Linked DNA regions of Homo sapiens: all the other regions are linked to region 4. The links are contacts of gene promoters, found by promoter capture Hi-C in human tissues and cell types (Jung and others, 2019). All regions are on one chromosome and are shown on one strand. The core of a region is centred on a gene start or on the middle of the fragment in contact, and the rest is flanking DNA. Distances in the headings are between cores, read along the strand shown.

What was found. Contacts are between HindIII fragments. The study calls those that stand out against the background at their distance.
Region 1: a fragment that was not itself captured here is called in contact with the fragment with the promoter of E2F1 in region 4 in 1 of the 25 tissues and cell types used here (dorsolateral prefrontal cortex).
Region 2: a fragment that was not itself captured here is called in contact with the fragment with the promoter of E2F1 in region 4 in 1 of the 25 tissues and cell types used here (dorsolateral prefrontal cortex).
Region 3: a fragment that was not itself captured here is called in contact with the fragment with the promoter of E2F1 in region 4 in 1 of the 25 tissues and cell types used here (lymphoblastoid cells).

Annotation. Positions count from the first base shown.
Region 1 is chr20:34,056,174-34,059,228 of GRCh38, forward strand. All of the region lies in intron 2 of RALY (RALY heterogeneous nuclear ribonucleoprotein), which reads left to right. Among named protein-coding and RNA genes, the nearest start is that of MIR4755, 8.6 kb to the left of the region's middle. The HindIII fragment of the contact is 3,702 bases long and covers 1-3,055 here.
Region 2 is chr20:34,077,406-34,080,786 of GRCh38, forward strand. It overlaps RALY (RALY heterogeneous nuclear ribonucleoprotein), which reads left to right. Exons shown (of 10, transcript NM_016732.3): 9 at 1,100-1,148; 10 at 2,505-3,381. The coding sequence ends at 1,144. Among named protein-coding and RNA genes, the nearest start is that of MIR4755, 30 kb to the left of the region's middle. RefSeq lists an enhancer at 1-194. The HindIII fragment of the contact is 3,668 bases long and covers 1-3,230 here.
Region 3 is chr20:34,135,011-34,138,000 of GRCh38, forward strand. No RefSeq gene overlaps it. Among named protein-coding and RNA genes, the nearest start is that of EIF2S2, 24 kb to the left of the region's middle. The HindIII fragment of the contact is 7,856 bases long and covers 1-2,990 here.
Region 4 is chr20:33,684,801-33,687,819 of GRCh38, forward strand. E2F1 (E2F transcription factor 1) reads right to left here and starts at 1,585. Exons shown (of 7, transcript NM_005225.3): 1 at 1,204-1,585. The coding sequence starts at 1,464. RefSeq lists silencers at 955-1,314, 1,425-1,924. The HindIII fragment of the contact is 12,256 bases long and covers 1-3,019 here.

The sequences.
Region 1 (3,055 bases), core at 131-2,630, 370 kb after region 4:
TGGGCAAACCACAATACATCATATTATTCATTAAATGTGGGATCTCTGTCAAACTTCTGTAACTTTCCTTATGCTATTTCCTCTTAAATGTACTCTCTTACCTGTGTGTGGGTTAACTTCAACTCATCCTTCAGGACAAGATTGGAACTTACTGTTGACTCTTCTTGTCTGAGTCGTCTCCCTTTCTTTCTGTCCCTTAGGTAATTGACATGCCTCCAAGTTCCTAGTTGCTCCTGTCATAGACCTCATCAAGATGAAACATAGGTTCTGGTTTTCTTGAGGTTTTCACCACTGACTGGACTATAAATTCTTCCAGGGGGGAGATTGTACTTTATTAACCTCTGTAGTTTTATACAGTGTCTGGCAGTAATAGGTGAACAATAAATGATTTTTTGATAAATGAGTAAATCTTTTTAGCATGTTATTCCTCTACCTAGGAACCTACAGTAACTTCATGGCACTCAAAACTTTGTAGACTCAAAAGCTAGTAAACACAGTAGACTATACATCTTCACATGTACATGAAAACAGTAATGAGGATTTGATTTTCCCTACTAATTCACCTCTACTCTCCCTACCCCACCACCTGCCCAATATGGTAATACATGGTGCTGCGAGGTTGCCATGAAAGTGGCATTCATTGGAGATAACAGTGTAAATTGGTGTAACTCTTTTGGAAAGCAGTTAAGCAATGTGTTGCCAGAGCCAATAAAATGTTCATATATTTGACCAGTCATTCCACTTCTGGGAGTCTGTCCTAAGGAAATAGTCTAGTTTATACAATAAGCTTTCCCTCAGATGCTATTGTTTATAATAGTGAGAAATTGGAAAAAGCCTAAAAGACCACCAATCTAAACTATGATAAATCTACTCAGGGAAAACCACGAGCTTTTAAAGCAGTAGTGTAAAAAATGATGCTTACCGAAAACTATGCGGCAGTAAGGACAAATATGCTATAATATATATAATAAATGTGTTATAATGCTAATTGAAAAAATTAGGCTACAGAGTTGAGTTATCTAACCATGTAATCCAAACATAATGTGCAAGAAAAACACTGGAAGGAAATACATGAACATGCTAACAGTTATGTCCCATAGAGGGGTGGGGGTTAGATGATTTCATATGGTAATTTCATATAATAAACATACTCAATATAATAGCACAAATTCTTACCCAAATTATTGGTTAAGAATTTTAAAATAATAAACCAGCCAGGTGTGGTGGCTCACGCCTGTAATCCCAGCACTTTGGGAGGCTGAGGCGGGCGGATCACGAGGTCAGGAGATCGAGACCATCCTGGCTAACACGGTGAAACCCTGTCTCTACTGAAAATACAAAAAATTAGCTGGGCATGGTGGCGGGCGCCTGTAGTCCCAGCTACTCTGGAGGCTGAGGCAGGAGAATGGCATGAACCTGGGAGGCGGAGCTTACAGTGAGCCGAGATGGCGCCACTGCACTCCAGCCTGGGCGACAGAGCGAGACTCCGTCTCAAAAAAAAAAAAAAAAAAACAACCTCTGATCTTACCCATTTTAAACAAAGAAATGATATGGTAATATTGCTGTGGTGACAGTAGAGGATTATTTAAAGAATGGTAATAAGAATGGAGAGAGGGGGGCTACATTCTAAAAATATTGAGGCCAAATGAGGAGGGCGTGGTGAATAACAGTATGTGGGGGAAATGTATATGCCTAATAGAGAACATTGGTTCATGGAGTTTAATGAGATGTCCAAGGTCACACAGCTAGTAAGTGGCTGATCCTGGATTTAAACCTTGTTCTGTCTCTGTCCAAAGCCATGCCCTTTCTCCTGCAGCTGAGACACCTATTACAGTTTTGGAGAAACTTTTTTTTTTTCTTTTAACCAGTTGCAGTGTAGAAGCTTGTTTAGTGTAGTGCCTCCTTTTTGAGGGGAAGGGGGCCGGGAAGGGTTAATTCTTTCTAAGACAATGACAAGGGGGAAAGACCATAGATACCAAAGCTGCTTCTGTCATGATCAGTTGAATTGATGAGTTTAGAAGTTCACTAGGCATTGGGTGTGTTATACCTGTCGTTTTGAGGGCTGTTTTTTGTGAAGTTGCAGGGGTTCATTGGTTGGCTTTCGTTTGATGCTTAGCTTATGGTAGCAGGGCATCTTGGACATAAGCGTGCATATGTATACCGTATTACATGCTAATGAACATTTTGTTCATTACACCAAGTTTATTAATGATGCTGCTGCTGTGGGAGTGAGAGAGGGGTCAGGGTGGCAGCTTCAAACAAGGGACAGTGTCTAAGCTGCTCTCTGAAAGGAACGGTTCACCTGAACCATACAATGCCCTATCCCCATACTTCTCAATGACTAATCCAAGAAAAGGTGATTTTGAACTTGAGTCTATCCTTTGGAGTATGATACTCATCCCTTCGGAAGAACCCATTTCACATTGACATGTTCACTCTCTGACCTTAGGCATGTTCTCTGCGCTAGGGTTTACTCTCTGCACTAGGGTTTGCCTAATAGAGAACATTGGCTCAATGAGTTTAATGAGATGTCCAAGGTCACACAACTAGTAAGTGCTGATCCTGGATTTAAACCCACTAGGGTTTACTCATTTATAAAGTGAATGACATATAACCACTCAGAGGATTGTTGTGTATAGATTTGGTAGCCTTAACTCATGAAGAGTCTTGTAAGCCACATTAAAGGATTTGAACTTGATTCTTTATGGTGGGAAGCCCTTGAAGGATTTTAAACAGGAGGTGGCAGGGGCACACTTGATTGATCACACAGGAAGCAGATGCTTAGTAATGTTTGTGGAGTTAATGTTGTTACCAGGGAGACAAAGGCAGAGTGGCTACAACTGTGGCATCATTCTCAGTGGTCCCCTGTAGACCAAACATGTGACACTGTGGGAGATGATGCTTAGAGCCCTAAGTTATGTTTGGATCAGCACCCTGGAGAGAGGTCACCCGTTCCTTCCTTCCCCTGTCTGAATGTGGGAAATTTAAGATATATGTTGATGCATATGCTGTCTTATAGGGTCAAGCCTTTGGGGCTGTGAGGGGTGCCACTCAG
Region 2 (3,381 bases), core at 147-2,646, 390 kb after region 4:
AGGGGGCACTTGCCTATCTCAGACACCATCAGAAGTCCCACTGAGGCCTAGGGCAGACCTCCCCCAAATGCGGGCACATTCTGGCCTCCGGTTTCCACATGAGTTGGAGAATGGGAGATTCGGACATAAGGGAGCACACACGGCCTGCAGAGCTTCAGAGCAGGGCTGGGGTGGCTTGTGGAGGCCACAGCCAGGAGGTGGGTTTTTCTAAAAGCCATTGCTGCTTAAGCATGAAGCAAAAGCTGTCTCATAAGGGGGTGAGCTCCCCGCCTGTTACTAGAACTATTCAGGCTGAGGCCGGCAGGCCATTTGACAAGGAGCTTATGTTGAGTGGGAGGGTGGACCAAACTCTGAGTCTGTGGGATATGGGTTGTACACTTGCTGCTCATTTACTTAATGAGCGCTCATTGAGCACCAAGACCCAGATCATACTCTCTAACTTCACATAACCTTAACAAGAGCCCTGTACTATGCAGAGTATTCTGTTCCCACATTTTACCCTGTGAGGAAATCGAGGCTCAGAAAGGCTGAGTGGCATGCTCAGGGCATCAGCTCGTAGGGACTGAGCCAGGGTTGGAGTCCAGACTGACTTGCTGGATCTGCAGCTTTCTCCTTTTCAGCACTGCTGGGTTCTATCGTGAGAACAGATGGGCTCATGGCCATGACGGTTAGGAGGTCTGCCTTATGCTAGCTCATCTCTCCTTTGAGCGTAGCCTGATCCTTCATCTTATTTTCTCAGGCATAGCAGTGTCCATAAAGGCCCTAACAAAGACTTGGATGCCCCCAGAGATGGGGAGCTCACCAGTCTATAAGGCTTTCAGCCTTCTCCAGTGCAGGCTCTCTGCACAGAAATGGGGCTCCTGCCACTCCCAGAACACCCTTCACTGGCCTGTGTGGGGTCCTCAGACCACCCTTCCAAGTTCCCAAGCCAGCTTTGTTGGCTGGTCCCATAGTCATTCCCCTTGGCTGTTCCTGCGTCTTCTGACTGTGTCCTCTAGATGCCCTCTGGACCATGAAGTTTTTCTGGACAAATGGCTCAGGGCAGGACTCAGAGCTGGCAATGAGTGATGTGTGGTCTCTCTTACCTCCTCCCTATCAGGAACACAGCCAGGACACAGACGCGGATGATGGGGCCTTGCAGTAAGCAGGTACAGGGGTCCTGTCCTGATGGGCAGAGGGTGGGGAATCAGTGAAGTGGAGGTTGTGCCTTTTCCCTGGATTGGGCAGGAAGTGTCACGAAGCATACCTGGCCAAGTAGCACTGACTATACCCAAGAATGAAGTCCCCTCCATATCTAGCCATCCCGTCACACCCCTTCATGCTTGGGGCTTGCCATGCTGAGGAAGCAGGTGCCGTAGATGGGCCAGGCGGGCCCACCTAGCAAGGGTTCCTTCCCTCAGCACACTCAGCCATGTTGCCTGTCTCTGCCCTTGAGGAGCTCCTAGTCTGGTAGAGGAAGACATAAGCCATTACCACCTAGTGTGAGCAGGATAACAATAGAGCGAGGCCAGGTCATGGAAGAGATGATGTGTAGCTGAGCCTGCTAGTGATTGAGGGAGCAATGTTCCACACCAGGGGAATGGCCTTAGCCATACAGAGCTGTGACAGTCCTTGGTATGTGGTGAGGCCAAGAGCCTCCTGTGGCTGCAGTGCCCCCCTAGTTGGTAGAGGACTCTGCTTATTGTCAGAGGGTGATGATTGTGAAGGGCCGTATGTGTCAGGCTTAGGGGCTGGGATTTGATTCTTTCATGGGGAGGAAATGCCCTGTGTGACAGGAGCTGCACCTGCTTTCTCTGAGTTCATCTTCAATCCCACAAGCTGATGATTGTACCAATATAATAGATGTGGAAACAGACACTAAAGGGTGCAGGGAGATAAGGTAGTAGTTGGTGGAGCCTGGATTTCAGCCCAGTGGTGTGTGGCTTCAAAGCCCACTCTCTGGCCACTGTTTACCATCTACTCTGCCCTACCTTAAAGGAAAGCCAGGCCACACCTGGCTGTGCCTACTACTCTCTGACCCATTCCCTTGGGGTGGCTTGGGTGGAGGAAGGTCTCAAACACTAGTGTTTCCAGGGAGGTGTCTGGATAGATGACACATTTATGCTGTAGTAAGATATCCCACCAGCAAAGGCTTCCAGAAGAGCTTTAGAAAATTGTACATATGCAGTCTTCTTTTGGAACTTCTTGGTTTGTTTTGCCTGGGATGCAAACAAACCTCCATATCCAGCCATCCTGCTACACCCCTTTGTGCCTGGTGCTTTCCAAAGCTTGTTAAAATAGTTCACAGGTGAGTTATATGGGCTCAGGTGAGGAAATGGAGGTTCAGAGAGCGGGTGAGACTTGCCCAAGGTTACATGGCCAGGAAATTATGAGGCCACAGCCAGAGTGCAAGAATCTCTCTGTCTCCAGACATCATTCCACCCTTTCTTCCCTACCCCTTTTATCAGCAACAGGGTCTCTTCCTCTCAGCCTTAGTCTCTTCTTTCTCTCTCTCTCTTTCTCAGCCTGACAGGAGCAATGGCCACCAGCAGGTGAAGGGCATCGCTGCCCCAGGCCTCAAGCCGGGCACCCAACCCTGGATGCCACCCCCCAGCGGGTACCAGAGGAAAGCTGGCAGCAGGCGCCTCCTCCCCCAACGCATCCCAGCCAGTGCCATGTCCTCTGCAGGTGGAGTTACTGGCCTACTCCTTCCCCATGAGCCCTCCCTGTCTGCACTGCCCAGGCCAGAGGGTAGAGCACAGGGGTTTCCCCATACTACCTCCCCTCCCCAGGACACTCCCAGGCTTGGGTTTTTTCTATAGGTTTGGCGGGGGGCCACAGGGAGGGGACCCTGACAATAAAGAGATTGGATCCCAACCTGTTCTGAGATGGGATGGTTTGTGTTTTCTCATGAAGATATCCCGGCCCCTCTGCCAACCAAAAAGCTGGTCTAGGGTGCCTAATACTGATCCATCTGGACCTTAGTGTCCTCAGTGGTGATTAAAATGGCCAGTGGGGCCACTGGGGAGGGTTGGATATGCTGGCCCATGAGCATCTTGCTGGCTGAAGTGTCAAGCAGTTGTGACCCACTTGGTTTACCCCATAGTAGGTCAAGACCTTATCTCTTTCCCCAGCTTCTAAGTCTGGTCTTTCCCAGCTCTTAAAAGGATTCTAGAGTCTGCCAGTCTCTACCTTCTCTCTTCTGGCTTAGGACACTATAATTTTTTCATTTGGACGTTGTCCTCCCACCAGCCTCCCAGTCTTCTGCCTCTGCCCTGTACCATCTCCCAGCAGCCACGCAGTCTTTCTGAAACGTATCCCTTCCCTGCCTAAAATCCCTTTACTGACTCTTCATCATCAGGACAAAACCCTACCTCCTGAATGTAGGGTGTAAGATCCTGC
Region 3 (2,990 bases), core at 109-2,608, 450 kb after region 4:
ATTGCACTCTTCTGTTCAGACAGTACGCTTTGTTAACAATTGGCAAAAAAATTCTATGAGATTGTGGAATTCACAATCTGGTATTGATCAAAAATTGTCGAACCCAATTAATGATCTTAGACAAACTGTCATTTGGATGGGAGATAAGCTCATGAGCTTGGAAATCGTTTTCAGTTACACTGTGACTGGAATACATCAGATTTTTGTATTACACCCCGAGCCTATAATGAGTCTGAGCATCACTGGGACATGGTTAGACGCCATCTACAGGGAAGAGAAGATAATCTTACTTTAGACATTTCAAAATTAAAAGAGCAAATTTTCAAAGTATCAAAAGCCCATTTACATTTCGTACCAGGAACTTAGGCAATCGCAGGAGCTGCTGATGGCTTCACAAATCTTAACCCTGTCACTTGGGTTAAAACCCTCAGAAGTTCCACTATTGTAAATTTCATATTAATCCTTGTGTGCCTATTCTGTCTGTTGTTAGTCTACAGGTGTAACCAGCAGCTCCGAAGAGACAGTAACCATCAAGAACAGGCCATAATGAAGATGGCGGTTTTGTCAAAAGAAAAGGGGGAAGTGTGAGGAAAAGAAAAAGAGATCAGATTGTTACTGTGTCTATCTAGGAAAAGGAAGACAAAAGAAACTCCATTTTGATCTGTACTAAGAAAAATTGTTCTGCTTTGAGATGCTGTTAATCTGTAACTCTTGTCCCAACCCTGTGCTCGCAAAAACATGTGCTGTATTGACTCAAGGTTTAAGGGAGGGCTGTGCAGGATGTGCTTTGTTAAAAATGTGTTTGCAGGCAGTATATTGGTGAAAGTCATCGCCATTCTCCATTCTCTGTTAACCAGGGACACAATGCACTGTGGAAGTCTGCAGGGACCCCTGCCCAAGAAAGCCTGGGTATTGTCCAGGTTTCCCCCGACTGAGACAGCCTGAGATATGGCCTCATGGGAAGGGAAAGAACTTACAGCCCCCCAGCCCTACACCCGTAAAGGGTCTGTGCTAAGGAGGATTAGTGAAAGAGGAAGGCCTCTATGCGGTTGAGATAAGAGCGTGGCATCTGTCTCCTGCACGTCCCTGGGATTGGATGTCTCAGCATAAAACCGACCATATATTCTATTCTGAGACAGGAGAAAACCACCTTATGGCTGGAGGTGAGACATCATGGCGGCAATACTGCTCTGTTACTCTTTACTGCACTGAGTTGTTTATGTAAGCTTAAACATAAATCTAGCGATTGTGCACATCCAGGCACAGCACCTTTTCTTAAACTTATTTATGACAGAGTCTTTGCTCACATGTTCCTCTGCTGACCCTCTCCCCACCTTCACCCTATAGCCCCGCCACACTCCCCTCGCAGAGATAGTAAAGATAGTGATCAATAAATATGGAGGGAACCAGAGACCAGTGCCAGTGCAGGTCCTCACTTGCTGAGTGCCGGTCCCCTGGGCCCACTTTTCTTCCTCTATACTTTGTCTCCGTGTCTTATTTCTTTTCTCAGTCGCTCGTCTCCATCTTGCGAGAAATACCCACAGGTGTGGAGGGGCAGCCTCCCTTCAAAAATGCATTAAAGACTTAAATGTACTCCAAACTGTAGAACTACTAGAAGAAAACATGGGGAAACACTCTAGGATATGGGTCTAGGCAAAGACTTTATGACTAAGACCTCAAAAGCACAGGCTACAAAAACAAAAATAGACAAATGGGACTATTTTAAACTAAAAAGTTTCTGCACAGCAAAGGAAACAACAGAATGAAGAAACAACCTGTTGAATGGTACAAAATATTTGCAAACCATTCATCTAACAAGGGATTAATATCCAGAATATACATGGAACTCAAACAACTCAACAGCAAAAACAATTCCATTTTTAAAAGCGGGCAAAGGATCTGAACAGACATTTCTCAAAAGAAGACGTACAAAGGCCATCAAGTATATGAAAAAATGCTCAATATTACTAATCATCATAGAAATGCAAATCAAGGCCAGGCTTGGTGGCTCATGCCTGTAATCCCAGCACTTTGGGAGGCCAAGATGGGCCTGAGGTCAGGAGTTCAAGACCAGCCTGGCCAACATAGTGAAACCCCGTCTCTATTAAAAACACAAAATTAGCCAGCGTGGTGGTACACGCCTATACTCCCAGCTACTCAGGAGGCTGAGGCAGGAAAGTCGCTTGAACCCAGGAAGCAGAGGTTGCAGTGAGCTGAGATCGTGCCATTGTACTCATTGTACTCCAGCCTGGGCAACAAGAGAGAAACTCTGTCTAAAAAAAAAAGAGGGGGGGGAATCAAAACCACTATGAGATATTGTCTCACCCCAGTTAGAATGGCTACTATGAAAAAGATTAAAAAAAAAAAAAAAAAAAAACAGTTGCTGGTCAGGATGCAGAGAAGAGGAAACTTACACACCGTTGGTGGGAATGTAAATTAGTACAGCCATTATGGAAAACAGTATGGAGATTTCTCAAAAAAACTAAAAGTAGAACTACCATGCGAGGTAGCAGTCTCACTACTGAGTATTTATCCAAAGGAAAGGACATCAGTATATCAAGGGATAGCTCCACCCATATGTTTATTGCAGCACTATTCACAATAGCAAAGATATTGAATCAACTTTGTGTCCATCAGTGGATGACTGAGAAAGAAAATGTGATATATATACATAATGGAATATTATGTGGCAGTAAAAAAGACTGAAAGCTGGGCATGTTGGCTCATGCCTGTAATCCCAGCACTTTAGGAGATCAAGGTGGGAGGACTGTTTGAGGCCAGGAGTTCGAGACCAGCCTGGGCAACACAGTGAGACCACGTCTCTACAAAAAATAAAATAAAAAATTAGCTGAGCATGGCAGCTTGTGCCTTTAGTCCCAGCTACTCAGGAGACAGAGTCAGGAGGACCACTTGAGCCTAGAATTTCAAGGCTGCCGTGTGCCATGACTGCACCACTGCACTCCAGCCTGGGCAACAGAGCAACAGCCCGT
Region 4 (3,019 bases), core at 335-2,834:
CACCCACACCCCCATCAGCAGTTAGGCAGCTTCTACCTCCTTGTCCTGAGTCCTGCCTCACCCCTCCCACTTGCTCCAAGTTCCCTGCTGAGACCCCATCCTGCCTGGCCAGACCCCGCCTGCACACCAGAGCCCCACCTTCACCCATAGGCTGCGCCAGTCAAACTGGTCTCCACACCCTGCCCTGTGCCCCACAGTTCCCAGCTCCAGGCTTCTACGCCTCCAATCCCTTCTCCCACTGGAATTCAGCCGCCTCTTCTGGGCCCTCCAGTCTGAATTCGTCTTGAGCTCAGCGATCAGGGAGGGCTTTATTAAAGGATCTCCCTGAGACATTTTCTCTCCTGGCACTGGGGGCCTCCTCTCCAGCTCCCAGAGGCCCAGCCCACCTAGTCCTTCTACAGAGACTCAGGGGTCGGCCTGCCTGATTAATGAGGTTCCATGGCAACCAGGGCCTGGGAGGGTGGAGGGTGGCAGATGGAAGGACAGGCAGAGGGAGGGGATCAGCAGCTGGTCCAGCTGCCCCGCCCCTGCAGAGAAGGCCTCCCAGCCAGGAGGGCTGTCCCCAGAGGCCTGGCCGGCCAGGCCTGCACCTGGCAGTCAGCATCGAGGCAGGAAGGAGGGTCTCCTCAATGGCTCACCAACGGTTAGGCCCCAGGACTTTCCTCCGCCCCGCCTTCACTTCCCCTAGCAGCTGTGCTCACTACCGAGATGCAAATTCTGAGCTGAAGCCAGCAGGCCTCAGTTCAAATCCCAGCCCCACCACCTGCAGCCGTGTGACCAGGGGCAAGTCACTTTCCCTCTCTGGGCCTCAGTTCCTCCTCCGTCAGATGGGCACAGTGACAACACAGCTCACAGCGGGGTTGTGAGTTTTAGCTGGCTTGAAGTCGCCCAAAGGCCTGGCATGCAGTAAACGCCAGTTGAATACACGTGGGCTATTATTATCACTGAGTCCGACGCTGGGGAGGCTCCGGTGAGGAAGCTGAGGCGCAGAGCACAGAGCAGCAAACAGGGACCGGCCCGAGGTCACCCCGCACCCCAGGGCGGGGCCCGGAGGCCCAACCCCGGCTCTGCACCGCCCAGCCTGGGCGCCTCAGTCAACCCCTCCCCCGCCCCCTGCCGCCTCCAGGCCAAACACGGCGCCCTCCCGGGTCTGCGCGGGGGGCACAGGCGGCGCTGTCGGCGCGGCGTCCCTGGGGTCCGTACCGGCGGGCGGCCGAGCGCGGGCCGCGGCGCACTGGGTGTGGGCCGGGGCGCCTGCGGTGTGGCGAAGAGCAGCAGGTCAGGGTCGCAGGGGCCGGCGGCGGGCGCCGCGGGGCCGGTGGGAGCCGGCGGGGCGCTGGCGTCCTGCGCGGCGGAGATGATGACGATCTGCGAGGAGTCGAGCAGCCGCAGCGCGCCGGCCCCGAGCAGGGCCTCCAGCGCCGGCGCGCATGGGCCGCCCGCAGGGGCCCCGGCCAAGGCCATGACGCTCACGGCCCGCGCGGCCCGGGTGACAGGCGGCGGCGGCGGCGCGGGCCCATGGCGGCAGGCCTCGGCGAGGGCTCGATCCCGCTCCGCCCCCGGCCGCCGCTGCCTGCAAAGTCCCGGCCACTTTTACGCGCCAAATCCTTTTTGCCGCGAAAGAGCCACGAGCCGCCGAGCGCCGCCACAATTGGCTGCCCCGGCCGTGACGGGAACAACGGCGGCGGTTCCTATTGGCTTTAACGCGCCGGACCCGGCGGCGAGGGGCGGGATGGGGCGGCGGCGCGGGGCGGTACGGCCAATGGCGGGGCGGGGCGCGCGCAGGCTTTGTCCGGATGGTACCAGGCGCGGTGTGACTCCCCGCCCCCAGCCCGGGCGTCCCCTGCTGGAGGCGTGGGGACACCGGAACATAGGCCCCGCCCCGCCCCGACGCTCCCGCATCCCACTGACCTTTCTATAGTGCAGGTTCAGAACAGAGCCTCTCTTCTGCACGTGACCCTCAACCTGTAGCCCCCAACAGCCTCAGCTTAGATTTCCAGAGACTGTCCCCTCTTCTTTTCAGGATCATCAGTTCCACAGCCCAGCCATCAGCCACCTCTTCCATCCTCAACTTGCCTCACCCATGACATTATCCTAATCCTGCACCCAGCCCTATCCCGCTCACCCAGAGCCCAAGCTGAAGAGCGGTGCCTGGAAATGGCGAGGGGGACGTCGGGCTTTCCTGCAAGTCCCATTTTAGCCAAAATCTCCAACAGCCAACGTATAGCATCTGCTTGAACTCATTCATTCCCTCACTCATTCAACAAACGTTTGGAGAGCTTGCTCTGTGCCCCATCCTCAATTCGTGGCCCTAAGGAGCTCACAGTCCAGTAGACAGGGGAACAGAAAGGTAACAGACGTTTACAATACGATGAAGTGGCGTCTGGGCGCGGTGGCTCACCACCGGAATCCCTGTAATCAGCTGGCGGGGTGGATCGCATGAGCCCAGGAGTTCGAGACCAGCCTGATCAACATGGTGAAGACCCATCTCTACAAAAAATACAAAAATTAGCCAGGCATGGTGGCGTGTGCCCGTAGTCCCAGCTACTTGGGAGGCTGAGGTGGGAGGATTGCTTGAGCCCGAGAAGTCGAGGCTGCAGTGAGCTATGATCATGCCACTGCACACCAGCCTGGGCGACAGAGCGAGATCCTGTCTCTAAAACAAAAAAAGAAAACACATCACTTCTAGGGAGCCCTCCCAAGGATTTACTCACTTCCTCTATTGCCCACTGCTGCCTCTGCTCCAATGCTGACCACACACACTCCTTTTCTCCATCTGCCTCCCCTGCCAATCTAGGAGCTCAGTAGCGACTCCTCCCAACACTGGTCTGGCCCAGAGCAGGCGCTGAGAAAGGTTATGAAAGAAACAGAGGCTAAGCCAGAGGCTGCCTAGACTGTGACAAGGAGACCACGGTTCTGCAAGGGTGGTCCTTAGGCCACTGGCTTCAGAACCACGTGGTCACTTGCTAATTTTGGGCCCACCCTGGCCCTGCCAATTTAAAATCTCTAGGTGCCCAAG